Regions from separate parts of the Homo sapiens genome. Here all the other regions are linked to region 1. Evidence: promoter capture Hi-C in human tissues and cell types (Jung and others, 2019). All regions are on one chromosome and are shown on one strand. Each heading gives the region's core, a stretch centred on a gene start or on the middle of the fragment in contact. The rest is flanking DNA. Distances are from core to core; before and after follow the strand shown.

What was found. Contacts are between HindIII fragments. The study calls those that stand out against the background at their distance.
Region 2: the fragment with the promoter of ITPKA here is called in contact with the fragment with the promoter of SPTBN5 in region 1 in 4 of the 25 tissues and cell types used here (IMR-90 fibroblasts, heart left ventricle, mesenchymal stem cells and 1 more).
Region 3: a fragment that was not itself captured here is called in contact with the fragment with the promoter of SPTBN5 in region 1 in 1 of the 25 tissues and cell types used here (IMR-90 fibroblasts).
Region 4: a contact is called between a fragment that was not itself captured here and the fragment with the promoter of SPTBN5 in region 1, in 1 of the 25 tissues and cell types used here (mesenchymal stem cells).

The regions. Positions count from the first base shown.
Region 1 is chr15:41,889,925-41,897,063 of GRCh38, forward strand. SPTBN5 (spectrin beta, non-erythrocytic 5) reads right to left here and starts at 4,129. Exons shown (of 68, transcript NM_016642.4): 1 at 3,975-4,129; 2 at 3,358-3,622; 3 at 2,970-3,137; 4 at 165-281. The coding sequence starts at 3,573. It overlaps LOC105370792 (a long non-coding RNA gene), which reads left to right and starts at 2,853. Exons shown (of 4, transcript NR_135681.1): 1 at 2,853-3,154; 2 at 5,303-5,412; 3 at 5,656-7,139. EHD4 (EH domain containing 4) reads right to left here. Exons shown (of 6, transcript NM_139265.4): 6 at 6,009-7,139. RefSeq lists enhancers at 845-1,720, 2,914-2,973. The HindIII fragment of the contact is 14,752 bases long and covers 1,167-7,139 here.
Region 2 is chr15:41,490,775-41,497,913 of GRCh38, forward strand. ITPKA (inositol-trisphosphate 3-kinase A) reads left to right here and starts at 3,100. Exons shown (of 7, transcript NM_002220.3): 1 at 3,100-3,642. The coding sequence starts at 3,154. RefSeq lists enhancers at 2,002-2,502, 2,503-3,003 and silencers at 2,740-3,359, 3,380-3,559, 3,670-3,719. The HindIII fragment of the contact is 23,030 bases long and covers 1-7,139 here.
Region 3 is chr15:41,572,761-41,579,899 of GRCh38, forward strand. It overlaps TYRO3 (TYRO3 protein tyrosine kinase), which reads left to right. Exons shown (of 19, transcript NM_006293.4): 16 at 242-351; 17 at 548-707; 18 at 919-1,055; 19 at 5,126-7,139. The coding sequence ends at 5,516. Among named protein-coding and RNA genes, the nearest start is that of TYRO3, 17 kb to the left of the region's middle. The HindIII fragment of the contact is 5,513 bases long and covers 411-5,923 here.
Region 4 is chr15:41,594,615-41,601,753 of GRCh38, forward strand. No RefSeq gene overlaps it. Among named protein-coding and RNA genes, the nearest start is that of TYRO3, 39 kb to the left of the region's middle. RefSeq lists an enhancer at 1,349-1,850. The HindIII fragment of the contact is 5,329 bases long and covers 1,532-6,860 here.

The DNA of each region.
Region 1 (7,139 bases), core at 2,879-5,378:
GGTTCTTCACCCATGGTTGGAGAGTGAATATGGACTTTGCAGTTTCCAGGATCTCCTATGGGGATCATAAAAGTTGTGTGGAACTTATGAATCCCCAGGGGTCTGAGGTGAGGCCAGGGCTGGGCTGGGTCACCAGGTGCTGGGTACTGGGGACTGAGCCATACCTTGTCCAAGGAGATGTGGGAGATCTGGAAACGCAGAATGATGACCCAGATGAGTCCCAGGATGAGTGTCTGGTCTCCGTCCACGATGTTCTCTGGCCCGATGAGTGGTACTGGCACCTGTGGGCACAGTTGGATGGGCTAAGCCATGAAGCCCATGTCCAGAGAGGACTCAGTCACCAAAAGCTTAGGGGGCCAGCTGCGGGATGGGAGCATCCTGGAATCTATCCTGCCCCAGCTGGGAGTTCCCTCAGGGAGAAGCAGGCAGGGGATAAGTCCAGGAAAGCAAAGGCTTCCTGCCTGGTTGGAGCCATGGCCTCAAGCCCACCTGGGTGAAGCCCCAACCTGGTGAACTGGGCTGGGCCCTCAGAGCAGGAGGACTCCCTGTGTGTGGGCTACAGGTAGACCTGGGCCAAGATCAGTGGTTCAGCTGCAGGGTTTGGAAATGAGGGGTCATAACAGTCAATGTGTGAGCCCAACAGACAATAGCAACTGTCTGCCTCCATCTCCCAGGGTGTCCTGGGATCTTCAGGGGGTGGCTGGGTCCCTGGGCTCACACCCAAATCTCAGCCCTCTTCTTCTGTTCCGGCTCCAACAGGGCCAGCTATAAATCCAGACTCCCAGGCTCCACCCAGTCAGACTGTCTTGGGCCAGAGCCTGGGAATTTGCACTTGAACAACACCTTGGGTGGCTCTTAGGTACACCAAAGTTGAGACTCCTCTGCCCTACATCCTGCCATTTGGACAGGGAGGATGGGTGAGTCAAGGGGAGAAGCCCTGCAGGATCTGGCCCCCAGCCCCCTGTGGCTCCATCTTCCACCCTGTGGAATCACATAGCTCCAAGGCCCATGGGATTCTTATAGTTCCATGGGATTCTAAGCACAGGACTTCAGGCCTTTGCAGGGCCGTGCCTGCTGTCTGAAAGTATTCTCCCAGGTATCTGCATGGCTATTCACCTCCCTGCCTTTAACTCTTCACTCAGATGTTGCCTAGCCTGACCACTTTATTTAACACAGAAACTTAAGGACTATTTCTCCCACCCAAATACACACTCTCGATCCCCTTGCCCTGCTCAAGTGAGGATCTTGGCTTTGTTTTCTGGTGTATCCTAGGGGAGTGGCACACAGCAGGCAATCGATCAGTAAGTACTGAATGGAGAAAGAAAAGGAGTGAGACTTTCCATAAGACCTGAAGGGCAACTGGCTTCAGCCGGCCACTACTAGCCCTGTGGGAGGAGCTGCAATCCTGGGTGTCCCCCTAGGTAAACTTTGGTATATCTGGCTGGCCTCTAAAGGATCCCACCCATGCTCCTGGGGTGGATTCCACCTGCCATGTCAATCACCTTGGCTTAGAGTTGGAGCCTCTGGTGAGTGGGGTGTTTGTCTGCTCCTCCCAGCTCCTGAGAGCCTATCCTCCTGACTTCCTATTGAGCGATGTCACGCTGGTGGCTTAAACTCACCGTGATGGGGGGTATTAACGCCATAGGATCAGCGAATACAGCACACTGGAGTTTTTATTTCCCCCAGAGAATCATTTGTTAAACGTTTACCAGCACACCGCTGATCTGGGTTCAATGAATCTGTCTCCCTTTGAAGCCAGGTGCCTTGAGGTGGGGGTCTGGGCTTTGCTTAGTGGAGCCCAGCGCCTGCATAGAATGCCCAGGGCATGGGAGCATCTCCATAAGCGAATGCATCCCTCATTCTGCCACACATTCCCTGTGTGTTTGCGGCAACTCCGTCATCCTTTCTAGACCACAGTTGCCTCCTATGTGTATGGAGACAAGGATGTCACCCTCACAGGTATCAGTGACATGCTGTATATTAAAGCTTGGGGAGAGCTGCAACACCTCTGACAAAGGCTGTGGGGCTTACACCCTTCCCCAGTTCCTGGAGGGGAGATGACTGGCTCACAGGGTCATTGTCCCTGGATCAACTAGGGCCCAGCATTCTGCAGCTGGCAGCGTTCTGCTCTTGCACCTGCTCAGGACAGCAGTCACTCCCATTCCCTTTGCTTGGGCTTCTCCCCTCCCTGGCTTTCCTCCAACACACCCCAGGAGGCTGGATGTAAGCTCCACTCCAGGATATAGTGATAGGCACGCACAGTCAGGCTCCATCCAGCCAGGCCCAGCTCAGTGACTTCACAGCCTCCAGGGACAGCCACCTCCAGGAGCCCTTGGCCTTCACAGTTCCCGGTTTCCAATGATCCCTTTGCCCCACCCCACCCCTGCACCAGCCCCTCACCCTGGCCATGAGGGTCCCTCTGTCCCTGGAGCTCCGGCCTCCTTTTAGTGCCCATCTCCTTAGCCTGTCCCTTTCTTTCAGGTGACTCTGCCTCCCCCCATTTGCTGAGGCCTCCTCCCTCCTTCTCCAAGACAGGCCCTGCTCCTCTTCCCCACCTGCCGTCTTAGTCCCACATCTGGGCTCTGTTGGCTGGTTAACCATCGATCTTGCCTGGTAAATAATTCAGGGCCTCTGTTTCCTCATCTGTGAAATGAAAAGCCTAAGAGAACGCTAAGATTCTTTTGGCCTAGAATCCTGTGAGTCTCTCTTATGACAGACAGTGACATTTTCCACCCCAGTAGGGACCTGGATTGCTACTGCCATGGCCAGCTGGGTGCTCTCCAAGTCAGGGGTGCTGTGCGAGGAGGGCGTGGCTTCTGCTCCTCTGTGTCCCAGCCACTCCTCCTGTACTCAGGCCCCAGCTCCTCTGTTCTGCCCAGTGGCCTGGCGCAGGAAAGGTGACCCAGTAGTTCAGCCTGTCCCAGCTGCCTGCCCCAGCACCATCCCAGACCCCTTTCCCTGGGGCCCACCTTGGCCCTGAGGAAGGCCAGAGCTCGGCTGCTGTTCTCCAGGAAGTGCACACGCAGGCGGCCCCGGCTCGGGGGTGGCAGGGCCTCCCCTGAGATGAGCTCCAGCAGCCGCAGGAGGTGGATGCCGTCAGCCAGCTCTGTGTACAGGTTCCGGATCTTGATGCCCGCCTGGGGAGGGGACAGGGGTAAGTATGGGGTCAGCCCAGCCTCACCTGTCCTCCCATCCTGGGACCTGAGAGGTACGACCCAGAGCAGCTGCTTTGGAAGAAGGAGCTCTGGCCTCAGCTTGGCCTCAGGCAGATGACCCCACAGCTCACCCCGGAGGCCCACTGGCCAGAGCTGGGGGCCTGGTATGGGTGGGCTGTGGGTCACAGCTGGCTATACTCACCTGGCCGCACTGGAAGACGTTATTGATCCACTTGGTGAAAGTCTTCTCCTGCATCTGCATGTGCCGGGCCTGTAGCTTGCGAATGTGGCCCGTCTCGTACTGAGAGTCCATGGTGAGACTTGGACTGGGCGGGACCCGGAGTTCTGTGCTGGGCCTCCTGCTGCGGTGCCCTGCAGCCCCGAGGAGCTCCCGGGGACTGTGGGGCTGACCAGCCATCAGCCCTGCAGACTTTGGGGATGAGGAGCTGCTGGATGGCTCCCTAAACCTGGAGGGCATGCAGATTAGGGGATGATGTGAATGGAGATGGCCCCTCTACCAGGGGCCTGGGGTCCCGCCTTGCCAGACTGTCCTCACATTTCATGGGGGTTGCAGCTTGGAGCCCAGCCAGGTAAGGGCCAGTGCTTCTGGTCCCCTGTGCTTGAATGGCCCAGGGCCCCCTTTGCCCCACCCCACCTTCCAGATTCTTCTTCTCAGAGCCCCTGCTGCCAGGTCCCTCCACCACAGTGACTGGGACAGGTGGAAGGAAGACAGGAAACTGCTTACCTTGGTGATGCCTGGGTCCCACAGAGACGGCTCTGCTGGACGGATGGAGATGGTAGATAGCAGGGGCTGCTTACCTTGGTGATGCCTGGGTTCCACAGAGGCGGCCCAGCTGGACGGATGGAGATGGCAGATAGCAGGGGCTGTGGAGGGAGGGAGAGGGACATCAGGAGAGGCCAAGGCTGGAGCAGGGCTGCACCACAGCCCTCCCCTTGAGCCAGCGTGCTGGGGTGACGGCACACAGGCGGCATTGTCCTCCCACCTGCCACAGGGCGTGGCCCAGACAGGGAGGGGGTGGTTCAGGAATGCTCCAGGGCCATTGCCAGATGATGTCCTCCTTCATCATCCTCCCTTCCCCGCCAGCAACTTCTCCAACTCCAGGTGGGGGTCCTGGCTCCCAGGACGCAGAGGCCCATGGAGCGGCCCTGCCACCGCATGGGGTGCTGCAGTCTGCGTAGGAGGTACCAAAGGGCAGAGCCTCTGTGGGAAGCCTGTGGACGCACTTCCCAATCTGAGACTGCCCTCTGTACCCTCTTGGGGCCTCTCTGTGAGCACCCAGGGCGAGGGGATGAGGGAGCGTCCTGGGCCGTGGTCTTCTCATTCACCCCCAGGGAACAGCCCATAGACTGAGGGCCTCACAGACCCTGGGCTTGGCTTTCCAGGCCCTGCCAGAGTGCAGCCTGCCTAGCCCGGGGCTGAAGGGTAGGCTCCCTGGAGGAAGGGGTGACCTGGAACTGCGAGGGCTGTGGAGTCTCCTCCAAAATTAGAGACACGGTGTTAACTCTGGGCTCCACAGAGCTGGCCGTGGCCCGGGGCTCGGAGGCAGGGGTGCAGAGGGAGCTGGTGGGCGCCCATCCCTTCCTCCCCGAGCAGCCGTGGACTACATGCCAGAGTGAAGGCGAGTTCTAATTCTGGGGGTCTCACCCGCCTCTGGCTAAACTCAGGGTAGCAGTGTGGGCTGGGGTGTGTGTGTGTGGGTGTCTTCCAGCGGCCCTGGAGCCTCTGAAGCGACAGCCCGCTCCTCAGGGAGGCGCTCCTGGCAGCCACAGCCCACAGCAGGACAGCCGCTCAGCGCGCCCTTGAGAGCTGGGCTAGGGATGAGTCACACTTGAACCGCCTGGGCCCACTGCAGGCAGTCAGGGGTGACGCTGAGAGGTGCCGTGGTCTCGGGTGGGGTGCGGCTTCCTGCGTCTGAGAGACGCTTCCTCTCCTGCTGTCCTCTCCCTGCCAGGCCCCTTCTGCAGCGGCTGGCTTCCAGACACCCTGCGTCCCTCCCTTGCTCGCAGCAGTTGCTGTGGCGGTCCTCCCGTGCACCCCCCCTTCTGCCCTCACTGCCCCTGGGGGTCCTCATCACGGACCCCCTAACTCGGCATCCTGGACACCACCACCCCGCACCTTTCCACAGTGCAGCTCTGCTCGTGCCTGTGAAGCCTCCCACAGCCTGGGAAGGAAAATCCAGACTTGCCAGACCTTGCCTCAGCCAGGCCTTGGAAGCCTGCCAGCTTACCTAACCAGGCTAGTCTGCCCCCCTCACTCTGGGTGCTCTCCATGGGCCACTCACCATTTCCTGAGCAGGACCAGAGCTCTCCTGCCCCAAGGCTGGGCTTCAGCTGCTCTTTCAGCTTTGAACGTCCTTTCCCATTCTCCATCATCCACATTCACCTATCCTGCCTGCCCCAGTTAAAATCCTGTTTCTTCTAGGAAGTCCCTCATCCCACCCGCTTACCCCAGGGAGACTGAGCTTGTTCCTTCTCCTAGTAAGACCCTCAGCCCATGGAGTCCTGTGTGATGTTGTGAGCGTGGGAGGACAGACTGAACTGCTCGGCCCGTGGAGTCCTGTGTGATGTTGTGAGCGGGGAGGACAGACTGAACTGCGTGGTGCTTCGCACATAGACCTCAACAGGGATTGGCATTTTGAAGCTGTTGGCGGGGGCTGTGGACTGCTTTTCTTCCTTTCTAGCTCAACGGCAGCTAAAGCCACTGCATACAATGCAAGGACTGGCTCCTGTTTGGCCACGACTGATTGCAGCCCCTGGTGAAATGAGAACCCTGTGGGTCGGAACAAAGTTTGGATTATTTATGTTGCAAGTAACTAAAATCTCAAGTGAAACTGGTTTAAACATTATATTTTTATTATTTATTTATTTATATTTAATTCTTTTTTAGAGACAGGGTCTTCTTAGGTTGCCCAGGCTGGTCTTGAACTCCTGGCCTCAACGATCTTCCCACTTCAGCCTCCTGCATTGCTGGGATTATAGGTGTGAGCCACCATGCCTGGCTTACACAGTATAAAGGGAATGCATTGGCCCACACAGTGGAAAAAAATATCTAGTAGGAATAGGAAGGACTTCAGGTGAGGTTTGATCCAGCAGCTCAAATGTTGTCACCACAGGCCTGGATTCCTCTGGCCTTTCTCAAGGTCTCTTTCATTTTCATGCTCCACAAGATGGCTTCTGCCAGGCTGACCTCCCTCCCCTGACCCCAGCAGCTCTGGACACCCCTCTCAGTGCCATTTATATTGTTGCATCAATAGGCTCATTTCTATATACTGCAAGGTTCAGAGAAGACAGAGTATCTCTCTCAAGAGTTCTAACATAAGTCTGGGGGTCCTGGCTCTCATAGGCTTGAACAGGGCCACATGTCCATTCCTGAGCCAATATTTGTGACCAAGGGGATGTGGTCAATCTCATCCAAACCTCACTTGAAGTGAGGGTGGGAGGAGGAGTGCTCTGCAAGGAGACTGTAGGTCTGGACCACCAAAAAGGTAGATGGGTTGGTGGGAAAAGCCAGATGCCTACTATGGTAGTGGGCGGGGGGAGGGCACACTGGCAAGGTACAGCAAGAGGCAGGGGCAGTGCTGGACAGGCAGGGGCTCCTCCCTAGCACGACTGGAGAAAGGACTCCTGTGAAGCGGTCACCTCCATGAGTCCCTCCTGTCCTGGCTTCCAACCACTCTGAAGTGGGGCTTTTGTCCACAGACCTGGCCTCTGCTGCCTACCCTCTTCTGTCCCCACCTGATGGGGCCGCTTTCCTTCTGAAGCGGCTGCATTTTGGGTTTCTCTCCACAGGAAGAGTTGGGGCTCACAGGCACACCCTCTCCCTAACTCTTCTCCCCCGGTTCAACCTGGATCCAGGGATCCACACTCTGCTCCGAGAGGCCAGCACGCAGCCACTGGAAAATGAGCCAGTGGGAGAGGGCAGCTCCATGTTTATTGATCAGCAGACTATGTCTTTTTGTTTGA
Region 2 (7,139 bases), core at 1,850-4,349, 400 kb before region 1:
TATCTGGCATTACAGGTGCCCTCCACCATGCCCAGCTAATCTTTGTATTTTAGTAGAGACGGGATTTCACCACGTTGGCCAGGCTGGTCTCGAACTCCTGTCCTCAGGTGATCCACCCACCTCAGCCTCCCAAAGTGCTGGGATTACAGGTGTGAGCCATTGCACCCGGCCAGGAAATACAAGATGTTAATGAAAGAATTTGAGAACATGAGCGAGGTGGCTCATGGCCATAATCCCAGCGCTTTGGGAGGCCTGGGTGGGCGGATCACCTGAGGTCAGGAGTTTGAGACCAGCCTGGCCAACATGGTGAAACCCCGTCTCTACTAAAAATACAAAAACTAGCCAGGCCTGGTGGCGAGCACCTGTAATCTCAGCTACTCAGGAGGCTGAGGCTAGAGAAGCAGGCTGAGGCTCTTGAAGCCAGGAAGCAGAGGTTGCAGTGAGCCGAGATCACGCCATTGCACTCGAGCCTGGGCGACAAGCACGCAGGAAGTCAGGGGACCTAGCCAGGATACACTGCCTTTTCCATCAACTGGCTGTGTGTCCTTAACCTCCCTGGTGGAGCCACTTAACCTCTTTGGTACTTCCGTAATGTGAATGAGGAGGATAGATGGATATAAGGCCCCTTACTGCTCTAAGAATCTATGGGATTGGATTTCAGTTCAGCATCCATTTCCAGGTTTGCGCTCATCTTTCCAATGAGAGACACCTGGGCAGGTAGAGCAAAGAGCAATTCTCTGGCTGCTGGTATAGTAGACCTAAGGCTTGAGCAAGTGCCTGATACAAGAAGAAAAGGAATTGCCCCTTTTTCTTGGCAGCCAGGACAGAGACCCAGTGCCCAACCTGCTTATACCTCCAACCCTGCCCATCCATCGCCTGACAGACAGGAGTGCAGGACAAGTTCTCGCCCCTCATTGCCCTCCCTACCTTTCCAGTTCTGGCAGTTCCTTGCAGGCTCTCCCCACCTTGGGTTTCCTCCCAGCCCCGTCTCTGAGGGCAGCACCTTCCCACATCCTGACGCAGGTCAGTGTAGCTGTGAAGGAGGCAGAGGAGTGAGTGTCTGAGACACGAGTGATCCAGGTCCTTCAAGCTGCAGAGTACATCCCTCACACACATACTCAAGATTCCTCCAGATGGTTGTCCTAGAGAAGGTGGCGATGTGATTTCCCAGGTTCTCCGTGAAGTAGTCAAGTATTCAAACTCCTCTATGCCCTTCTTCCTCTTACCCCTTCATTCCCTCTATTTCTCCTGCCTCTCTCATTGCCATTCTTTCTTACATTATTTTGCTTCCTTCCTCAGTTCTCCAGGATCTTCACCTATTTGTTTATTTTGAGATAGCGTATGACTTGTCACCCAGACTGCAGTGCAGTGGAATGTCATGGCTCTCTGCAGCCTCGACCTCCTGGGCTCAAATAATCCTCTCACCTCAGCCTCCTAAGTAGCTGGGACCACAGGTGCATGCCACCACACTCAGCTTTTTTTTTTTTTTTTTTTTTTTTTTTTGAGACAAGTTATCACTCTGTTGCCCAGGCTAGAGTGTGGAGTGTGGTGGTGGAGTGTGGTGGTGATCTCAGCTCACTGCAGCCTCGACCTCCCAGGCTCAAGTGATCCTTCCACTTCAGCCTCTCCCCGAGTAGCTGAGACTACAAGTGCACACCACCACACCTGCCTAATATTCTGTATTTTTAGTAGAGACAGGGTTTTGCCATGTTGCCCAGGCTGGTCTCGAACTCCTGGGATCAAGCAATCTGCCCGCCTTGCCCTCCCAAAGTGCTGGGGTTACAAGCCTGAGCCACTATGCTTTGCCGAAGATTCCCGTCTTCCCACTGAACCTTCTTCTTTCCTTCTCCTGGGCCATTCCTGAGCCCTGGCTGAGGGGAGAGAAGGGAAGGAAAGCCCCTCCTGCGGCCATCTCAGCATCCAAGGCAATCCTTCTGGGGCTGCTCTGTCTCCAGGGCCCCAGCCATCCCCAGACACTGAGTGCCTGAGGGGGGACCCTCACTCCTGTGGCACTATGGTAAGATAGGAAACAGTGGCTTCTCCTCAAAGCAGCCTCGCCGGTCGGTCAGCTGACTACCAACATGGGAAGTGGCCGAAGATCCACATGGAATGACACTGATAAGCACTTTGCAGTGTCTGAAACTCTTAAACATCAGTGCTGTCTTCCTAGTTTTACAGACACAACTCTGTGGGTTGGATGAGGTTTTTCTAAATGTACAAATGCAGAAATATACGGAGGGAGTAAAGGGACTGCCTACAAATCACATCTAGAGTGTGGTGTACCTGATTTCAAGTCTTTTATTTTATTCTCGCAGCAACGGGAGAATCCGCAGTCGAGGGAGGTGAAATGACTTGCTGAACGCCACACGGCGGACTCCAAGCCCCGAGCTCCTATAACAGAGGAGGAGGAAGGCGGGCTCAGCTCCTGCCACCCAGCAGCGGGGGAGATGCAGCCCGGGACTAGGCTGGGCCATGGGGACAGATCCAGGCCCCGCCCCCTGACCTTGTTCTCTGCCCGCCGGGAAGTGGGGAACTTGCGGGGAGCAGCCTCAGCTAGTCCCTGGGGCAGAGTCTCCACTTGGGTGCACGCCCTGGGGTGGGGCTTCTTCGGGAAGCCGGGGGCCTTCAACTCTGCTCAGGAGCTCGGGCCGGAGAAAGGCCCCGAGACTTGAAGCCCTTGCCCGGGAGGGATGAACACGCAAAGGAACCCGAGGAACGGGGTAGGGGACCAAGAGTAGGACCAGCTTCTCCTGCGCGGGGACAGGGCCTGTGGAGCGGCCTGGAGGAATCTCTCCCAGCCGCGAAGCCCGGGAAGGCTGCGAGGCCCCAGCGCGGAGCGGCCCCTCCCACCTCCCCGAGGGCAGGCGGAGCGAAGCCTCGGGGCCCGGGCCCAGGTTTTGTGCCTACGGAGGCTGGACTTCCCCGCCACCCCGAGGAGTCACCGAGAGCCTTCTCTCCCTCGCAGGGGCCCTGGGAGGCCCGCGCTTTCTCTGAAAGTGGAAGGAGTGGGCGGGGGGCGCGGCCGAGGCGGGGCGCGGGCGTGCAGCGGCGCAGGCTCCGCCCCGGGGCCGTCTCCAGCCGGGGGCGCCGAGCCGCTCCAGTCCCCGGCGCGCCGCGGGCTGGTGGGCTCAGCGGCGGCGCCGGCACTGGGAAATGACCCTGCCCGGGGGCCCAACGGGCATGGCGCGGCCGGGGGGCGCGAGGCCCTGCAGCCCGGGGCTGGAGCGGGCCCCGCGCCGGAGTGTCGGGGAGCTGCGCCTGCTCTTCGAGGCGCGCTGTGCGGCGGTCGCTGCGGCCGCCGCCGCGGGGGAGCCCCGGGCCCGCGGGGCCAAGCGGCGTGGGGGACAGGTCCCCAACGGGCTTCCGCGGGCTCCCCCGGCCCCGGTGATCCCTCAGCTGACCGTGACAGCCGAGGAGCCCGACGTGCCCCCGACCAGCCCTGGGCCGCCGGAGCGGGAGAGGGACTGCCTCCCGGCAGCGGGCTCTTCGCACCTGCAGCAGCCGCGCCGCCTTTCCACCTCGTCGGTCTCCTCCACTGGCTCCTCGTCGCTGCTCGAGGACTCGGAGGACGACCTGCTGAGCGACAGTGAGAGCCGGAGCCGCGGCAACGTGCAGCTGGAAGCGGGCGAGGACGTGGGTCAGGTACGGGCCGCGGGGGCGGGGCCAGCGCCGGGCGCGGGGGCTGCACGGGGGACCTGGCTGGGTGCTCCCGGAGGACCCGCTCCTGTCCATGCTCCCTCCAGCGGAAGGTCCTGTTCTCGCGGTTTAGGAGGAATCTGGGGGTCAGAGGGAGGCGCCTGGCCGACCTCTCGCCTGGGCAACTTTCACCTCGGCTCCGCCGGCGGGTCGTGGCGCTGGCCCTGGGGCGTCTAAGAAGCGGGGCGAGGAGCAGGCGACCCGCCGCGGGGACTGGGCGAAGCGGGGGTAGCGGACCTTGTTGGCTGTGGGTTAGGACAGGAGGGATCGGAGGGGCTGAGCCTTGCCGGGTGAACCCTCGGAAGGAGAGAGGCGAAGGAGAGTTTCCCTTACCCCCCGCCCCCTCTCCGGTGCCGCGGCCGCACCCCCGCCGTTGCCACGGTTTCCCTCTCCTGAGTGGGAGTGGAGCGGCGCTCCAGGCTCTGCTCGGGAGCCGCTGCCGTCTGCTCCCAGCGCCCGCACGAGGCGTGGACGCAGGGGAGGGAGGGGCGTGGGCCTGGGAGCTCTGGCTGGGAGCGGAACGCAGCCCACCCAGTGCGCGCCCTGCCTCCCATCTTCCCGGCTCGCCGCTCCTGAGCGCGGCAGAGAGGGGCGGTAAACTGAGGCTGCAAGGGGGCAGGATCACTCTGCTAGTCTCTGCCTCTGATAGCCTGGGTGTTCTGGGACCAGGTCTGACCCTCGGAAAACACAGCCCTGGGCACTGTTAAGTCATTCCTGACGCCCGCCACTTAGGGATGTGCGGCTCCCGGGACACCCTCCTTGTTCCCCTCGTTTTAACCAAGGCCAAATACCTTGAATAACTGTCCGTGGTCAGCGCGAAGGACTTTCTTTAGATCCACGTTTCGCAAGTGTCCCTGAGGCCGAGGAAGAGGCGAGGGGCGCCCCCGGCCTCGGGCGTCTGGGGCCTGCCCATAAGTCCGGGTCGGCGCGGCGGGGCGGGGAGAGCTGTGGCCGCGCGCCTGCTCCGCCGCACAATCGGCTGGGACAAGGCAGGGAAGCTGTGGCGACCTGCAGGGGTTCACAAGCCCGGAGGCCGATGGGGTTTGTCAGTGACACCAGAGGGGAAAAGCCTCACAGAGCAGGAACACCCCCCGCCGCCAGGTGCTGGGTGCGCCGGCTCGGTCACTAGCCTGCCGCTTCCCCTTCTTCCCCGGTGGTCAGAGCAGCCCCGGACCCAGGATCGTTTCTGGGGTAACCCTTGCCTAGGTCGGGGGGCGGATGCCGGGGCTTCCCAGGATGTGGAGTGTGGGGCAGTGAGAGGCCCCCCGCCCCGCCTCTTCGGAAAAGCCTGAGCAGCAGCTCCCGGGGCGCGGAAGCTCTGACACCTGAGAGCCGGTGCAGGCGAAAGGGCGCGAAGCGCGGGCGCGTCCCGCTTCCCTCTTCCGCCCGCAGGGACTCGGCGAAGTGCCTGGGAGAGGGAGTGCGCTAGGAGGAGGTCCTGCGGCCCAAGCCTGGGTGTAGAGACCGCCCCGGCTAAGGTCAAGCCTCGGGGACCTGGGCGACCCCGCCGCCCTCCGAGCCGTCGGGAGCCGGTGCAAATCGCCGCTGAGGGCCCTTCCAGCTCCAAGGCTGCGGCTTCCAGGCCTTCCCCACCCCCAGGCCCGCCGGGGCCTCCCCGAAGTCAAACAGCCACAGCGGCGGCAGATAAGCCAGGGGCTGTTGACAGAGGCTGCCTGAGTCCGTGTGGAAGGGCCCAGGGCGGACTTTGCCTCGCCGCAGGTCCCAGAGCCGCACAGCGCGCCGGCCCAGGCCAATTTAGGGCTTCCCCAGGCAGGAAGCAAGGCTGGTCCGGCTGACCGTGAAGGATGCACGTGGGCCGGACTCTAGGACTCCCGGCTTACCAGCCCCTTACGCGCGGCCCAGGCAGGCCGGAGCCCAGGAAGTTTCTGCCTGCCTGCCTGCCTACCTCTCTGCCTGGGGCATACGTAGTCCCCTTCACCTCCTAGGAGCCCTCTCCAGCCTGCCCAGAGCAGGGAAATTGAAACTGGGCAGCCTCACTCCGGCAGAGGAAAAAGTCACAGGCAGGCTTTTCCTAACCAGCCAGGGGAGAAGTTGGAGGCCCACCCGCAAGGTCAGCTGCATGACTCTATGGCCTTGCCTGCCTCCTCAAACAATTGTGGGGTATTGCTGGAGGAAAAGAGAGGGTGTTTGGCTCCTGTTCATCTGGTTTTCTTCTTTCTGTGCTCCAGGATAGGTAAGGAGACCTGGATGCCATCCCCTCCTGGACTCAGAATTCCCACACATCGCTTTCCACTAATTATAGAGCAGAATTTAGGTTAACAGACTTCCTTTTTAAACAGCTAATGCCCATGGGAAGGTGAAGTCGTGGGTCACTTATACCTTAGTGCAAATCGTTTTATAAATTTAAACTGATTGCTCTTCCCACCACCACGACCACAGGGAGTGCTAGTTTGATAGGGCAATTGGAACATGGGGAGGGTATTGGGCTGGTAGAGAGCTTCAACCAGAGCCTGGATGACTGGAGGCAGGGAGCAAGGGTGAGTGCCAAAGACAGAGCACTCACCCACCTGCTGGTCTGCTCCAGCAGAAGATACACTGTGTATCTGGCATGAGCAGGTGTCTTCAAGGCTTCCGAATGGAGCTTAGACAAAGGAGGGTCTGAGGCTAGTATCCAGCCAAGCCCTGCCCAGAGAGAGGTACTCCCTGTTCAGCCCTAGGAGTGAGGAATTATCAGAGGGCCCTCCTGTGACTTCATTAAAGTCTCTCACACAGTCAGCAATCCTAGCCTTTGCCTCAAGATACCCAGGTAGCCTCTGGCTGTGTGTTAGTCTCCCAGAGAGGGCACCTTCATGGAGGGAGGCCCGAGCCAGAGGATGTTCAAGCTTCTCCCGGGTTCAAGCGATTCTCCTGCCTCAGCCTCCCGAGTAGCTGGGATTACAGGCACCTACCACCACACCGGCTAAGTTTTGTATTTTTAATAGAGATGGGGTTTCACCATGTTGGCCAGGCTGCTCTCGAACTCCTGACCTCAAGTGATGCATCTGCCTTGGCCTCCCAAAGTGCTGAGATTACAGGTGTCAGCCACCGCGCCTGGGCTTACATTCATTTTTAAAAGCGTGATGTTCTCTGGGGGAGGTATCTCCCTAAGGTGGAAGGTGGCAGTGATTTGAGTTCCATGACACTTGCACAACTCCTGCCATGCTTGGCCATACCCATTACTGGCAGGGGGGCTAAATCCTGTCATAGCAACCTCAGGTGGTAGGACGGAGGACTCAGATGAGATAATAGGTATGAAAATCTTTTGTAGGCTGGGAGCAGTGGCTCACACTTGTAATCCCAGCACTTTGGGAGTCCAAGGCGGGAGGATCACTTGAACCCCGGAGTTCGAGGCCAGCCTGGGCAACATAGCAAAATCCTGTCTCTACTAAAAATACAAAAAAAATGTCACGGTGGCTCACACTTGCAATCCCAGCACTTTAGGA
Region 3 (7,139 bases), core at 1,917-4,416, 320 kb before region 1:
GCTGGGCAAGGGCCCTTTCTAGAGGGAGGGACTTGTGGAGCCCCAGGGTGGGGGAGTCTCGTCTTCCAGGCTCCCTCTTAGGCTAGCCGAAGCTTCCTTGCCTTGGGAAGGCCCTCCATCCCCTTCCTTCCTTCCAGTGATTCTGGGGACAGCCTTCAGGCTTTCTGGCCAGGGACCCCCATCCATCCTGCCCCAGCTGGGTGGGCAGGTTAAGCCTGAGCTTGGCCTGTCTGTCCACTAGAACCTACCCCTCCAGACCCTGATCCGGTTCATGGTGGACATTGCCTGCGGCATGGAGTACCTGAGCTCTCGGAACTTCATCCACCGAGACCTGGCTGCTCGGAATTGCATGTACGAATTCTGGAGGACTCGAGGGTGGGAGACAGCAGCAGGTGCCAAGAGGAGCTAGCTGATGGTCGGCTCCTGCCTGGGACAGTATCTGCTATGCATGGGGGTAGCTTGGGAGCAAAGATGCAAAGATGTCCTGGCTCTTGTGGGCCTGTGAGCATGGCAGAAGGCTGACTCTCTCCCTCAATGCCCCTTGTAGGCTGGCAGAGGACATGACAGTGTGTGTGGCTGACTTCGGACTCTCCCGGAAGATCTACAGTGGGGACTACTATCGTCAAGGCTGTGCCTCCAAACTGCCTGTCAAGTGGCTGGCCCTGGAGAGCCTGGCCGACAACCTGTATACTGTGCAGAGTGACGTGGTGAGCAGGGTGGCCCGTGAAGCTTGGTGGGGACGAGTGTGAGAGCAGACCTTTAGGATCCTTAAGGGCCTAGCCAAGTCTGCTCTCTGGGGTTTGGTTGCCCCCTGATGAGGCCCTGAGCCCCAGGTTGTGCTTGTCTCAGAGCCATGGCTCTCTGCCTGGCTCAGGACACCTAGTGACAGCTTCTCCCCCAACCTCGATTCTGTCCCAGTGGGCGTTCGGGGTGACCATGTGGGAGATCATGACACGTGGGCAGACGCCATATGCTGGCATCGAAAACGCTGAGATTTACAACTACCTCATTGGCGGGAACCGCCTGAAACAGCCTCCGGAGTGTATGGAGGACGTGTGAGTATCCTGGGAAGGGGGCTCTGGAAGGAAAGGGGAATCTGGAGTTTTGGCTGATGGCTGCCACCACAGTTGCCTCAACTGGACCTTTGTTTTTTGATAGAAACATCCTTGTAGTTGGAAGGCTGCACTCCACCTCATACTCACTGTTCATCTACCACCTCCCTGTTTTCTTTCTTTCCCCCTTTCCCATCCCAGATTTCTTGCTTTAGCCTTTGTCTATCAGTCTCTTTTCTCCAGTTTGTAAGGAGAACCAGGAACCCCAAGAGCAGAAGGCACAGTGCTGAGTAACAGTGTGGGAGGTTTCCCTGCCATCTTCCCACCCGTCATTCCTTTTCTTTTTTTAATTTGTATTTATTTTATTTTATTTGTTCTACCCTAGTGAATACAACCTTTGTCCTGGAGACCCCAGCTAGTCTAAGAAAACTTCCTAGGCTGAGCTCTCTTGGGAATCTAAGATAAAGAACTGAGATCCTGGGAAGAAGGGAACTGCCTCCTCTTCTTTCTGCAAGCCCAAAGCCCTCGGGACTGGGCAGGCAATGATACCACCCACTTTGCTACAGTGATAACAGACCCTGTGACAAGATAATGGGAAGTGTCACTGACATTAGCTGGGCATTTAGGCATTCTTTCAGGTAATCTTCCTCTGACCTTATGAGGAAAAGACTATTATTTATCCCCACTTTGTAGATGAGAAAATAGGATTAGAGAGATTAAGTAACATGGCCAACGTCACAGAGCTAGTAAGTGAATAAGTTGGAATTTGAACCTAGATCCCTGTAGTTTTAGAATATATACTCTTAACTCTTTATGACAACAACTGTGATTTGTCTGTTCTAGTCTTACACTCCCACTCCATCCAAGCCAAGGGCTCCCTAGGCCTTCAGACAACCTTTTGTGAGTATTTTTTGTTTTGTTTTTTGAGACAGGGTCTCGCTTTGTCACCCAGGCTGGAGTGCAGTGGCGTGATCTCTGCTTACTGCAGCCTCAACCTCCTGGGCTCAAGTGATCCTCCCTCCCCAGCCTTCCAAGTAGCTGGGACTACAGGCACGTGCCACCACACTCGGCTAATTTTTGTATTTTTGTAGAGACAGGGCTCCGCCATATTTGTCAAGCTGGTCTTGCGCTCCTGGGCTCAAGGGATCCATCTGCCTTGGCCTCCCAAAATGCTGGGATTACAGGTGTGAGCCACCACGCCCAGCCCAGAGGACCTTTCATGAGCCCCAGGGGGAGTGGGAGCCACTGTGACCAGAGAAAGAATCTGCTCCATTTCTTGCTCTGGGATTGGACTTCCAGAGGGCCGAGGTCATGGACAGGCACAGGAAGGCTCAGCCTGATGGTGGGGTCCTTCCCTTGGACAGTGGGTTTGAAGTGCCCTGAGCCTGGGCTGTGGGTAACTCACCTACACCTGAGAGGGAAATCTTGAGTAGACAAGCCAGGCCCTGGCCCTCCTGTTCATTCAGCAGAGCTCAGGGCATGGCAAGGGGCAGGAAGCTCACATCTCCCTGTGGCTGCAGCCTGCTTCAGTTCTAATCTGGCGCTGTAGAAGCTCTGAAGGGCAGTGGGGACCAGACCCCAGCGCAGCCTCCTCCCCAGCTGGAGCTGGTGCTGTCAATGGAGAGTGGGCAGGCACTGGCCTCACCCAGGCAGCCTGGTGGACAGGCGCCAGTTGGCTCCTAGCACAGCCTTGAGGACGTGTCCCAGTCTGGCCATGTACCCACGGCCCCAGACCATTCCCATTCCCACGACCTGTTCAGTGTCTGGCATGATTACTGCCATTACTGGTGGCCCCTGCTGGGGGTGTGCTGGTGTGTGAGGCAGTGCTTGGGGCTCTTGTCATGGGCATAGGCAAGAGAGTCAGGCATTTGCATTCATTGGACTTGGTCTCAGCGTCTTTCCATTAGGTTTTTGGTTTGTTATTTTTCCACCTGAGCCTGAGGCATTCCTTGGGCATCCTGAGTGATAGGCTTCAGGGAATTTATAAGGTTCCTGAAATTGTATGTAAAAAAGCATTCCTGGCAGGGGACGGTGGCTCACGCCCGTAATCCCAGCGCTTTGGGAGGCGGATCTCCTGAGGTCGGGAGTTCCAGACCAGCCTGACCAACATAGAGAAACCCCGCCTCTATTAAAAATACAAAATTAGCTGGGCGTGGTGGCGCATGCCTGTAATGCCAGCTACTTGGGAAGCTGAGGCAGGAGAATCACTTGAACCCGGGAGGCAGAGGTTCTGGTGACCCGAGATCACACCATTGCACTCCAGCCTGGGCAACAAGAGCAAAACTCCATCTCAAAAAAAAAAAAAAAAAAAAATTAATTCCTGTTGGCAGGAGAGCTGGAAGCTTTTTCCAGATACTCAAAAGTTATATATGAATAGTGAGGACTTTTTCTTTTTTTTGAAATGGAGTTTTGCTCTTGTCGCCCAGGCTGGAGTGCAATGGCACAATCTTGGCTCACCACAACTTCCACCTCCTGGATTCAAGCGATTCTCGTGCCTCAGTCTCCTGAGTAGCTGGGATTACAGGCATGCACCACCCTGCCCAGCTAATTTTGTATTTTTAGTAGAGACGGGGTTTCTCCATGTTGATCAGGCTGGTCTCAAACTCCCGACCTCAGGTGATCTGCCCACCTTGGCCTCCCAAAGGGCTGGGATGACAGGTGTGTGCCACCTTGCCCAACCAATTTTTGTATTTTTTAGTAGACACGGGGTTTCATCATGTTGGCCAGGCTGGACTCGAACTCCTGACCTCAAGTGATCCACCTGCTTCGGCCTCCCAAAGTGCTGGGATTACAGGCATGAGCTACTGCACCTGGCCTGATTCAGTAGGTTTCCTTTTTTTTTTTTTTTTTTTTTTTTAAAAAAAAAAAAGAGAAAGGGCCTCGCTCTGACAGCCAGGCTGGAGTGCAGTAATGCAATCACAGCTCACTGTAGCATCAAACCCCTGGGTTCAAGAGATCTTCTGCCCAGCCTCCCTAGTAGCTGGGATTACAGGTACTTACCACCATACCTTGCTTATTAATTTTTTTTTTTAATAGAGACATGGTCTCGCTATGTTGTCCAGACTAGTCTCGAACTCCTGGGGTCAAAGGATCTTTTAGCCTCAGCCTCCTGAGTAGCTGGGACTACAGGTGCATACCACTGTGTCCGGCTGCACGGTGAGGAATTACTGAGTAGGTACTGCCCACTCAGCACAGGAGGGACTTCGGAGTCAACCCCCTCGCTTCAAATCACAGCTCTGTCACTTTCCACGTGTGTGACTTTAGTCACGGTTCTTAACCTCTTTGTGCATGTTTCCACATTTGTAAATGTGGAAATGATTTCTATTTGATCATTGCTTTCATAGGGTTGTTGTGAGAAATAATAAGCTAGGATGTGCCTGTAATCCCAGCTACTCAGGAAGCTGTGGTGGGAGGATCACTAGAGGCCAGGAGTTTGAGACCAGCCTGAGCAACATAGCAAGACCCTGTCTCTACAAATATATTTTTTATTTATTTAATTTAATTAATTTATTTGTTTGTTTATTTATTTTGAGATGGAATTTCACTCTTGTTGCCCAGGCTGGAGTTCAATTGTGCAATCTCGGCTCACCGCAACCTCCACCTCCTGGGTTCAAGCGATTCTCCTGCCTCAGCCTCCCAAGTAGCTGGGATTACAGGAATGTGCCACCATGCTGGGCTAATTTTTTTTTGTATTTTTAGTAGAGATGGGGTTTCTCCATGTTGGTCAGGCTGGTCTCGAACTCCTGACCTCAGGTGATCTGCCTGCCTTGGCCTCCCAAGGTGATCCCACCTCAGCCTTCCGAGTAGCTGGGACTACAGGCGTGTCTACCAAGCCTGGCTAATTTTTGTATTATTATAGAGACAGGGTTTTGCCATATTGCCCAGGCTGGTCTCGAACTCCTGGGCTCAAATAATACCCCCCTTCGGCCTCCCAAAGTGTTGAGATTACAGATGCGAGCCGCTGTGCCCCACCAGGGAATAAAATTTTTTAAAACCCTAGTGCCATATGATGAAGGGGCCCCTGCTTTTGAGGGAAGGGCTCCTGCCTTTTCTCACGCTTCTCTCCACCCCAGGTATGATCTCATGTACCAGTGCTGGAGTGCTGACCCCAAGCAGCGCCCGAGCTTTACTTGTCTGCGAATGGAACTGGAGAACATCTTGGGCCAGCTGTCTGTGCTATCTGCCAGCCAGGACCCCTTATACATCAACATCGAGAGAGCTGAGGAGCCCACTGCGGGAGGCAGCCTGGAGCTACCTGGCAGGGATCAGCCCTACAGTGGGGCTGGGGATGGCAGTGGCATGGGGGCAGTGGGTGGCACTCCCAGTGACTGTCGGTACATACTCACCCCCGGAGGGCTGGCTGAGCAGCCAGGGCAGGCAGAGCACCAGCCAGAGAGTCCCCTCAATGAGACACAGAGGCTTTTGCTGCTGCAGCAAGGGCTACTGCCACACAGTAGCTGTTAGCCCACAGGCAGAGGGCATCGGGGCCATTTGGCCGGCTCTGGTGGCCACTGAGCTGGCTGACTAAGCCCCGTCTGACCCCAGCCCAGACAGCAAGGTGTGGAGGCTCCTGTGGTAGTCCTCCCAAGCTGTGCTGGGAAGCCCGGACTGACCAAATCACCCAATCCCAGTTCTTCCTGCAACCACTCTGTGGCCAGCCTGGCATCAGTTTAGGCCTTGGCTTGATGGAAGTGGGCCAGTCCTGGTTGTCTGAACCCAGGCAGCTGGCAGGAGTGGGGTGGTTATGTTTCCATGGTTACCATGGGTGTGGATGGCAGTGTGGGGAGGGCAGGTCCAGCTCTGTGGGCCCTACCCTCCTGCTGAGCTGCCCCTGCTGCTTAAGTGCATGCATTGAGCTGCCTCCAGCCTGGTGGCCCAGCTATTACCACACTTGGGGTTTAAATATCCAGGTGTGCCCCTCCAAGTCACAAAGAGATGTCCTTGTAATATTCCCTTTTAGGTGAGGGTTGGTAAGGGGTTGGTATCTCAGGTCTGAATCTTCACCATCTTTCTGATTCCGCACCCTGCCTACGCCAGGAGAAGTTGAGGGGAGCATGCTTCCCTGCAGCTGACCGGGTCACACAAAGGCATGCTGGAGTACCCAGCCTATCAGGTGCCCCTCTTCCAAAGGCAGCGTGCCGAGCCAGCAAGAGGAAGGGGTGCTGTGAGGCTTGCCCAGGAGCAAGTGAGGCCGGAGAGGAGTTCAGGAACCCTTCTCCATACCCACAATCTGAGCACGCTACCAAATCTCAAAATATCCTAAGACTAACAAAGGCAGCTGTGTCTGAGCCCAACCCTTCTAAACGGTGACCTTTAGTGCCAACTTCCCCTCTAACTGGACAGCCTCTTCTGTCCCAAGTCTCCAGAGAGAAATCAGGCCTGATGAGGGGGAATTCCTGGAACCTGGACCCCAGCCTTGGTGGGGGAGCCTCTGGAATGCATGGGGCGGGTCCTAGCTGTTAGGGACATTTCCAAGCTGTTAGTTGCTGTTTAAAATAGAAATAAAATTGAAGACTAAAGACCTAAGGTTTTGTCTCTTTTTTTTTTTCTTTTTTTTTGAGACAGTCTCACTGTGTTGCCCAGGCTGGAGTGCATGGTGTGATCTTGGTTCACTGCAACCTCTGCCTCCTGGGTTCAAGCGATTCTTGTGCCTCAGTCACCAGAGTAGCTGGGATTACAGGGGCTCACTACCATGCCCAGGTAATTTTTGTATTTTTAGTAGAGATGTGGTTTCGCCATGTTGGCCAGGGTGGTCTTGAACTCATGACCTCAAGTGATCTGCCTGCCTTGGCCTCCCAAAGTGCTGGGATTACAGTCCTGAGCCACCACACCTGGCCCCAGCTTTGTCTCTTAAATGTTTACTTTTTTTGAGATCACAAAGATGAAAGATTTTTATAGAGAGAAAAGTCTGGAAAGACATATGCCAAAATGTTAACAGCTGTTATCTTTTTTTTTTTTTTTTTGAGACCGAGTCTCACTCTGTCGCCCAGGCTGGAGTGCAATTGCGCGATCTGAGCTCACTGCAAGCTCTGCCTCCCAGGTTCACGCCATTCTCCTGCCTCAGCCTCCCGAGTAGCTGGGACTACA
Region 4 (7,139 bases), core at 2,946-5,445, 300 kb before region 1:
TGGGGTCTCATTCTGTCACCCAGGTTGGAGTGTAGTGGGATGATCACATCTCACTGCAACCTCTGCCTCCGGGCTCAAGCGATCCTCCCACCTCAGCTTCCCAAGTAGCTGGGACCACAGGCATGTGCCACCATGTCCAGCTAAGTTTTTGTATTTTTTGTAGAGGCAGGGTTTTGCCACGTTGCCCAGGCTGGTCTTGAACTCCTGGTCTCAGGCCATCCACCAGCCCCGGCCTCCCAAAGTGCTGGGATTACAGGTGTGATCCTCCATGCCCAGCCTATTTTGTTTTTCTGATTGCTTTCTAAATATTAACGTATGTAATCCTCATAACAATGGCTTTGTTACCAGAAAGGAGTCCAAATCTAGACCCCAAGAGAGGGTTCTTGGAGCTTGCCCAGGAAAGAATTCAGGGTGAGTCCTTAGTAAAGTGAAAGCAAGTTTATTAAGAAAGTAAAGGAATAGGCCTGGTGAGGTGGCTCATGCCTGTAATCCCAGAACTTTAGGAGGCCGAGGTGAGCGTATCACTTGAGGTCAGGCATTTGAGACCAGCCTGGTCAACATAGCGAAACTCTGACTCTACTAAAAATACAAAAATTAGCTGGGGTTGGTGGCGCATACCTGTAATCTCAGCTCTTTGGGTGGCTGAGGCACGAGAATCTCTTGAACCTGGGAGGAGGAGGTTGCAGTGAGCTGAGATCACACCACTGCACTCTAGCCTGGGTGACAGAGTGAGACTGTGTCTCAAAAAAAAAAAAAAAAAAAAAAAGAAAGGGAATAAGAGAACGGCTACTGCATAGACAGATCAGCAGCATGGGCTGACTTATGGTTATTTGATTATATGCTGAACAAGGGGTGGATTATTCAGGAGTTTTGTGGGAAAGGGATGGGAGTTCCCAGAATTGAGAGTTTAGACCCTTTTAGACTGTGTAGGGTAATCTCTGGGCATTGCTATGGCATTTGCATGGTGCTGGTGGGAGTGTCTTTTAGCATGCTAATATGTTGCAATTAGCATATAATGAGCAGTAAGGACAACCAGAGGTCACTTTCGTTGCCATCATGGTTTTGTTGGTTTTTGGCCGGCTTCTTTATTGCATGCTGTTTTTTTTTTTTTTGTTTTGTTTTGAGAAGGAGTCTTGCTCTGTTGCCAGGCTGGAGTGCAGTGGCATGATCTCGGCTCACTGCAACCTCCGCCTCCTGGGTTTAAGCAATTCCCCTGCCTCAACTTCCCTAGTAGCTGGGACTACAGGTATGTACCACCACGCCCAGATAATTTTTTGTATTTTACTAGACACAGGGTTTCACCGTGTTGTCCAGGATGGTCTTGATCTCCTGACCTTGTGATCCGCCCGCCTCGGCCTCCCAAAGTGCTGGGATTACATGCGTGAACCACCGCACCTGGCTATTATCAGCAAGGTCTTTGTGACCTGTATCTTGTGCTGGCCTCCTATCTCAACCTATGACTAACAATTCCTAAGCTCCTGGGGATGCAGTCTAGTAGGTCCCAGCCTCATTTTACCCAGTACCTATTCAAGATGGAGCCAGCCTGGTTGCAATGCCTCTGACAGTTTGGAGAGAAGATTATTTAGTTATTTATTGAGATGGAGTGCAATGGCGTAATCTCAGCTCACTGCAACCTCCGCCTCCCAGGTTCAAGCGATTCTCCTGCCTCAGCCTCCTGAGTAGCTGGGATTACAGGTATGCACCACCACACTCGGCTAATTTTGTATTTTTAATAGTGATGGGGTTTTCACCATGTTGGCCAGGCTGATCTCGAACTCCTGACCTGAGGTATCTGCTTGCCTCAGCCTCCCAAGGTGCTGGGATTACAGCCGTGAGCCACGCCACCTCGACCGGCGTTTTTTTTTGTTTGTTTGCTTGTTTTTTTGAGACGGAGTCTCAAGCTATCACCCAGGCTGGAGTGCAGTGGCATGATCTCGGCTCACTACAATCTCTACCTCCCAGGTTCAAGTGATCCTCCTTCCTCAGCCTCCCGAGTAGCTAGGACTACAAGCATGTGCCACCATGCCTGGCTAAGTTTTGTATTAGTAGAGACAGGGTTTCATCATGTTGGCCAGGCTGGTCTCAAACTCTTGACCTTGTGATCCACCCTCCTCAGCCTCCCAAAGTGCTGGGACCAGTGGCACTCATATTTTAAATAACATGGAATTCCTGGGGTGGTGCTAAAGTGTTTTTTTTTTTTTTAATAAAGATGAGGGGTCAGGTTTGGACATAGCCATAGGATAAGAGTTAAAACAAACTTGGCTTGTTGGCATTGATTTATGGACAACGCTTTCCCAGATCACACAAAAGCCTCAGGAAGACTGACACCAACTGTGAGTTTCTTCTCTTCTCATCCTTTCTGTGTCACCTTCCGTTCTGGGAAGACCAGGCTCCATTAGCTACTTTTCTTCCTGGATGCTCAAGAACTCCTCTGTCATGCTTGGGACCCAAGTCCTTCCCATTATACGTTGAGCTGGGTTCTGTGTCCCAGAGTTAGAGACTGTGTTATGCTAGGTCTTATCTGAATCTCCCATAAGTGGGTTTCCTTGGCTTCGGGCTTCTGATCCTACAGAAGCTAGCCACCTCCTTTGCTCTTTGCTGTGGTTGCCAGAAGAGGAGTTCCTTTACTGGTCCCTATCTGTTATCTTTTCGGCTTGATTCACCCTGCCTGTAGCCACTCCATCCAGTGGATCCTAGTCCTGTTTGTGTTTTTTTTTTAAGACTCTAAATGTTCTTTAGGTTCCTTCTTAACTCTGTGCTTCTAGGATTGTTCTGCCTCTATCATGTCTCCTGTCAAATTCTTCTTAGAGTAAGTTTTTTAACGAAGTCAGATTTCCCTACTGAATTATTCTAACCTAGCATCTATCTTTTTTTTTTTTTTTTTTTTTTGAGATGGAGTCTCACTCTGTCACCCAGGCTGGAGTGCAGTGGTGCAGTCTTGGCTCACTGCAACCTCTACCTCCCAGGTTCAAGCAATTCTCCTGCTTCAGCCTCCTGAGTAGCTGGGACTACAGGTAAGCACCACTAGGCCTGGTTAATTTTTCTATTTTTTGTACAGATGTGGTTTTGCCATGTTGGCCAGGGTGGCCTTGGCCTCTCAAAGTGCTGGGATTACAGGTGTGAGCCATCGGGCCTGGCCTAACTTAACATCTATCTTATCTTCTCTAGAGGGTCCTGCTGTCAGGCTGGTCACTGTTTTGTCCGTGCCCTGACCATGTGGCTTGTCTTTAGGGAGCCCAGATGCTTATACTCTCATTGTAAGTTGGGTAAGAAAACTATTCTCCCTCTTGGTATTTTAGATAATCTTCCCCTTAGCTGCTCTGGCAATTCCTCTGCTCTAATCCCAAGACTGGCAACTAACATGGCTCCTGTCTGGCTCATGGCCATTCACTGCCGTAATCCCTTTTCTTAGCCACAAATATCTACTCATTATGGACTGGGCAAGGGGAAAACAGACTCCACATGGTCACACTGTTATCTTTTTTTTTTTTTGAGATGGAGTTTCACTCTTGTTGCCCAGGCTGGAGTGCAATGGCACGATCTTGGCTCACTGCAACCTCCGCCCCCGGGTTCAAGCGATTCTCCTGCCTCAGCCCCCCGAGTAGCTAGGATTACAGGCATGCACCACCACACCCAACTAATTTTGTATTTTTAGTAGAGACAGGGTTTCTCCATGTTTGCCAGGTTGGTCTCAAACTCCTGACCTCAGGTGATCCACCCGCCTCGGCCTCCCAAAGTGCTGGGATTACAAGCATGAGCCACCACACCTGGCCACACTGTGTTTTTTTTTTTTTTTTTTTGAGATGGAGTCTCGCTCTATTGCCCAGGCTGGAGTGCAGTGGCGTGATCTCGGCTCACTGCAAAGTCCACCTCCCAGGTTCATGCCATTCTCCTGCCTCAGCCTCCTGAGTAGCTGGGACTACAGGCGCCCAACACCGCGCCCGGCAAATTTTTTGTATTTTTAGTAGAGACAGGGTTTCACCGTGTTAGCCAGGATGGTCTCGATCTCCCGACCTCGTGATCCACCTGCCTCGGCCTCCCCAAGTGCTGGGATTACAGGCGTGAGCCACCGCGCCTGGCCACACACTGTTACCTTTTACAGTGCTTTAAAGCAAATGTTAAACCAGAATGTAATCAGCTCCCAAGGTCAGAAGGGGCATCTTTCTCCATAAGAAGATGTGTGCATGTGCTTACCTCCATTGCACTGGACTTAGGACAGCATTTTGGCACTGTGCAAGAGTACAAATGTGTGACGTACTCAGCCCAGAACTGTCCCGTTTGCTGGGGAATATAGGAGCTTTCCCTGAACCATATTTCTCCTTTTGGGCGGGTTGTCCTCTTCCTGCCTCCAGCCAAGAGGTGGTCTATGTCTCTCCGAGTCTTCATTCCCAGTATGGATATTCCTCCCATCAGCATTATCTCAAGGAGCTCCTGACTATGCCCAGTGATCCTTGGGTGAGGCCACACTGTACCCCTGTAAGTTTAGGTCACATTTCAGCTATTAGAGGGTCCCAGCTTCAGCTCTATTCCAGAGTCCATAAACAGCAATTCAGCATTTCTAGGGGCTTAAAAGCAATTCTGTTTTTGTATCCTTGGACCACAGATTTTTCTAGGGCCATCTGGACTCTCTGAGTTGCTGCCAATAGGACAGCAGGGAAAGTCCAGACCAGTCCAGGTTAACCGGCCCCAACATATCAATGTGGTTTTCTATGATGTCTTCCACTCCCCAGGTCAGCCAACCAAATCCTGTTCCACTGGGGTTCAGAGTCCCTAAAATGGAACTGTTTGGTTCTTCTAGGAGCACAGGAAGAAAACAGTGAGGAGGAGGAGTGGGGAGAAAAAGACTCATGCGAAAAAGGGAGAGGAAGTGAGTGATGCTGAGGGAAGAGAAAAAAGCAAATGGCAACAGCAGCAGCAGAAGGAGAGTGAGGGTGGGAGGGAAAGGCAGAAATACAGAGTTCTACTCTTGATAATGTACTATTATTTTTGAGATAGGGTCTCGCTATGTCACCCAAGCTGGAGGGCAATGGCATGATCATGGCTCACTGCAACCGTGACCTCCTGGGCTGAAGCAATCCTCCCTTCTCAGCCTCCCAAGTAGCTAGGACTACAGGTGTGTGCCATTAGATCCGGCTAATTTTTAAAATTTTTTGTAGAGATGAGGTCTTGTTATGTTGCCCAGGCTGGTCTCGAACTCCTGACCTCAAGTGATGCTTTCATCTCAGCCTCCCAAAGTGCTGGGATTACAGGCATGAGCCACCATGCCCAGCCTTCTCTCTCTCTCTCTCTCTCTCTCTCTCTCTCTCTCTCTCTCTCTCTCTCTCTCTCTCTCTCTCTCTCTGTGTGTGTGTGTGTGTGTGTGTGAGAGAGAGAGAGAGAGAAGAGGTAGAGGTTTATTGAAATATGAACATTTGGCCAGGCTCAGTGGCTTGCATCTGTAATCCCAGCACTTTGGGAGGCCAAGGTGGGTGGATCGCTTGAGCCCAGGAGTTTGAGACCAGCCTGGGCAACATGGCGAAACCCTGTCTCTACTAAAAATGTACAAAAAATTAGCTGGGTGTGGTGGTGTGTTCCTATAGTCCCAGCTCCTTGGAGGCTGAGGTGGGAGTATGGCTTGAGCCTGGGAGGTGGAAATTGCAGTGAGCTGAGACCACGTTACTGCATTCCAGCCTGGGCAACAGAGTGAGACCCTATCTCAAACAAACAAATACAAAACCAAAAAAAAAAAAAAAAAAAAAGAGAGAGACAGAAAGAAATATAAACATTCAAGGAAATGTAAGATGGAAACAGCCATAACATATAGAGACACTTGCTGCAAGAGGATGCCTGAGGCATTTATTCACTGCCTAGGCTGCCCATGTGCTGTCACATTTTTCCTGGTTTGAATACATATAAGATGGGAAGAGGGGAGGGGACAGAGTTGCTCTGGCTGACTGCCTACCATGTGGCCTTCAGGAATGCACCTTCAGGAAAGCTCCACTTGGGCTAGGGCCCCACTCCTGGGCACCTGCTGGCACCCTCCCCTCTTGGGCTCTGGGTAAGACCTTGTGTTGTCCTTGAGGGCAGTGGGGGTTCTCACTCATCACTCAGAGGATGAGGCCAGGCAAGCTGCCTGGGGAAAGGGAGAGGATCCAATGGCCAGAAAGACACAGTGTGCTGTCCTTGCATCCTCTGGGTGGGAAGAGTCCATCTTTTGTGACCACAGCTCTGAGAAACACACTGGCCAAATGTCTGAGACACCTTTAAGCAGGCTCAGTGCCAGCCAGTTGGCCCCCTCACTGGCACCAGATCCCAGATATCCTTCTCTCCCACAGCCTGCACTTGAGGTACTTGTTTTGTGTTCAAGCTTTTTATTTCTCTTTCCTTTCCTAGACAGGACTGAATGCTAGCCACACTGTCACACTGCCTCCCATCACACATAGTGTCTCCTGCCACCACAGTCCAAGGATGTTGCAGTGGTGGTGTTCTTCTGCACTCTTCAGGGCTTACTTAGCAGAGGTAAGCCTCATCCAAGAATCATCTTTCCTTTACAACACAGGAGCAACCTACTGCATGCCAGGGTCCAAGAGGGGAGACAGGGCCTGGTGCGGTGGCTCATGCCTGTAATCCCAGCACTTTGGGAGGCCGAGGCAGGCAGATCACGAGGTCAGCAGTTCGAGACCAGCCTGACCAACATGGTGAAACCTCGTCTCTACTAAAAATACAAAAATTAGCCAGGCGTGATGGCGGGTGCCTATAGTCCCAGCTACTCAGGAGGCTGAGGCAGGAGAATTGCTTGAACCTGGGAGGTGGAGGTTGCATTGAGCGGATATCGCACCACTGCACTCCAGCCTGGGCAACAAAGCGAGGTTCCATCTCAAAAAAAAAAAAAAAAAAAAAAAGAAGGGAGACAGACCTTTTTCAGCATCTTCATTCCTTGGGGCAGCTTGACCTCCAGCAAGACTGGTAAGGACCATGGTGCAAGGAGCATGGCCTGCCCATGACCTGAACTGGAAATCCAGCCTATGTGATGGTATTAGCCTGAGTTCCTGGTTAACATTTTATAGTGACCCATCAAATATGCATAAAAAAGTAAGGAAGCCTGGGCATGGTGGCTCATGCCTGTAATCCCAGCACTTTGGGAGGCTGAGGCAGGCGGA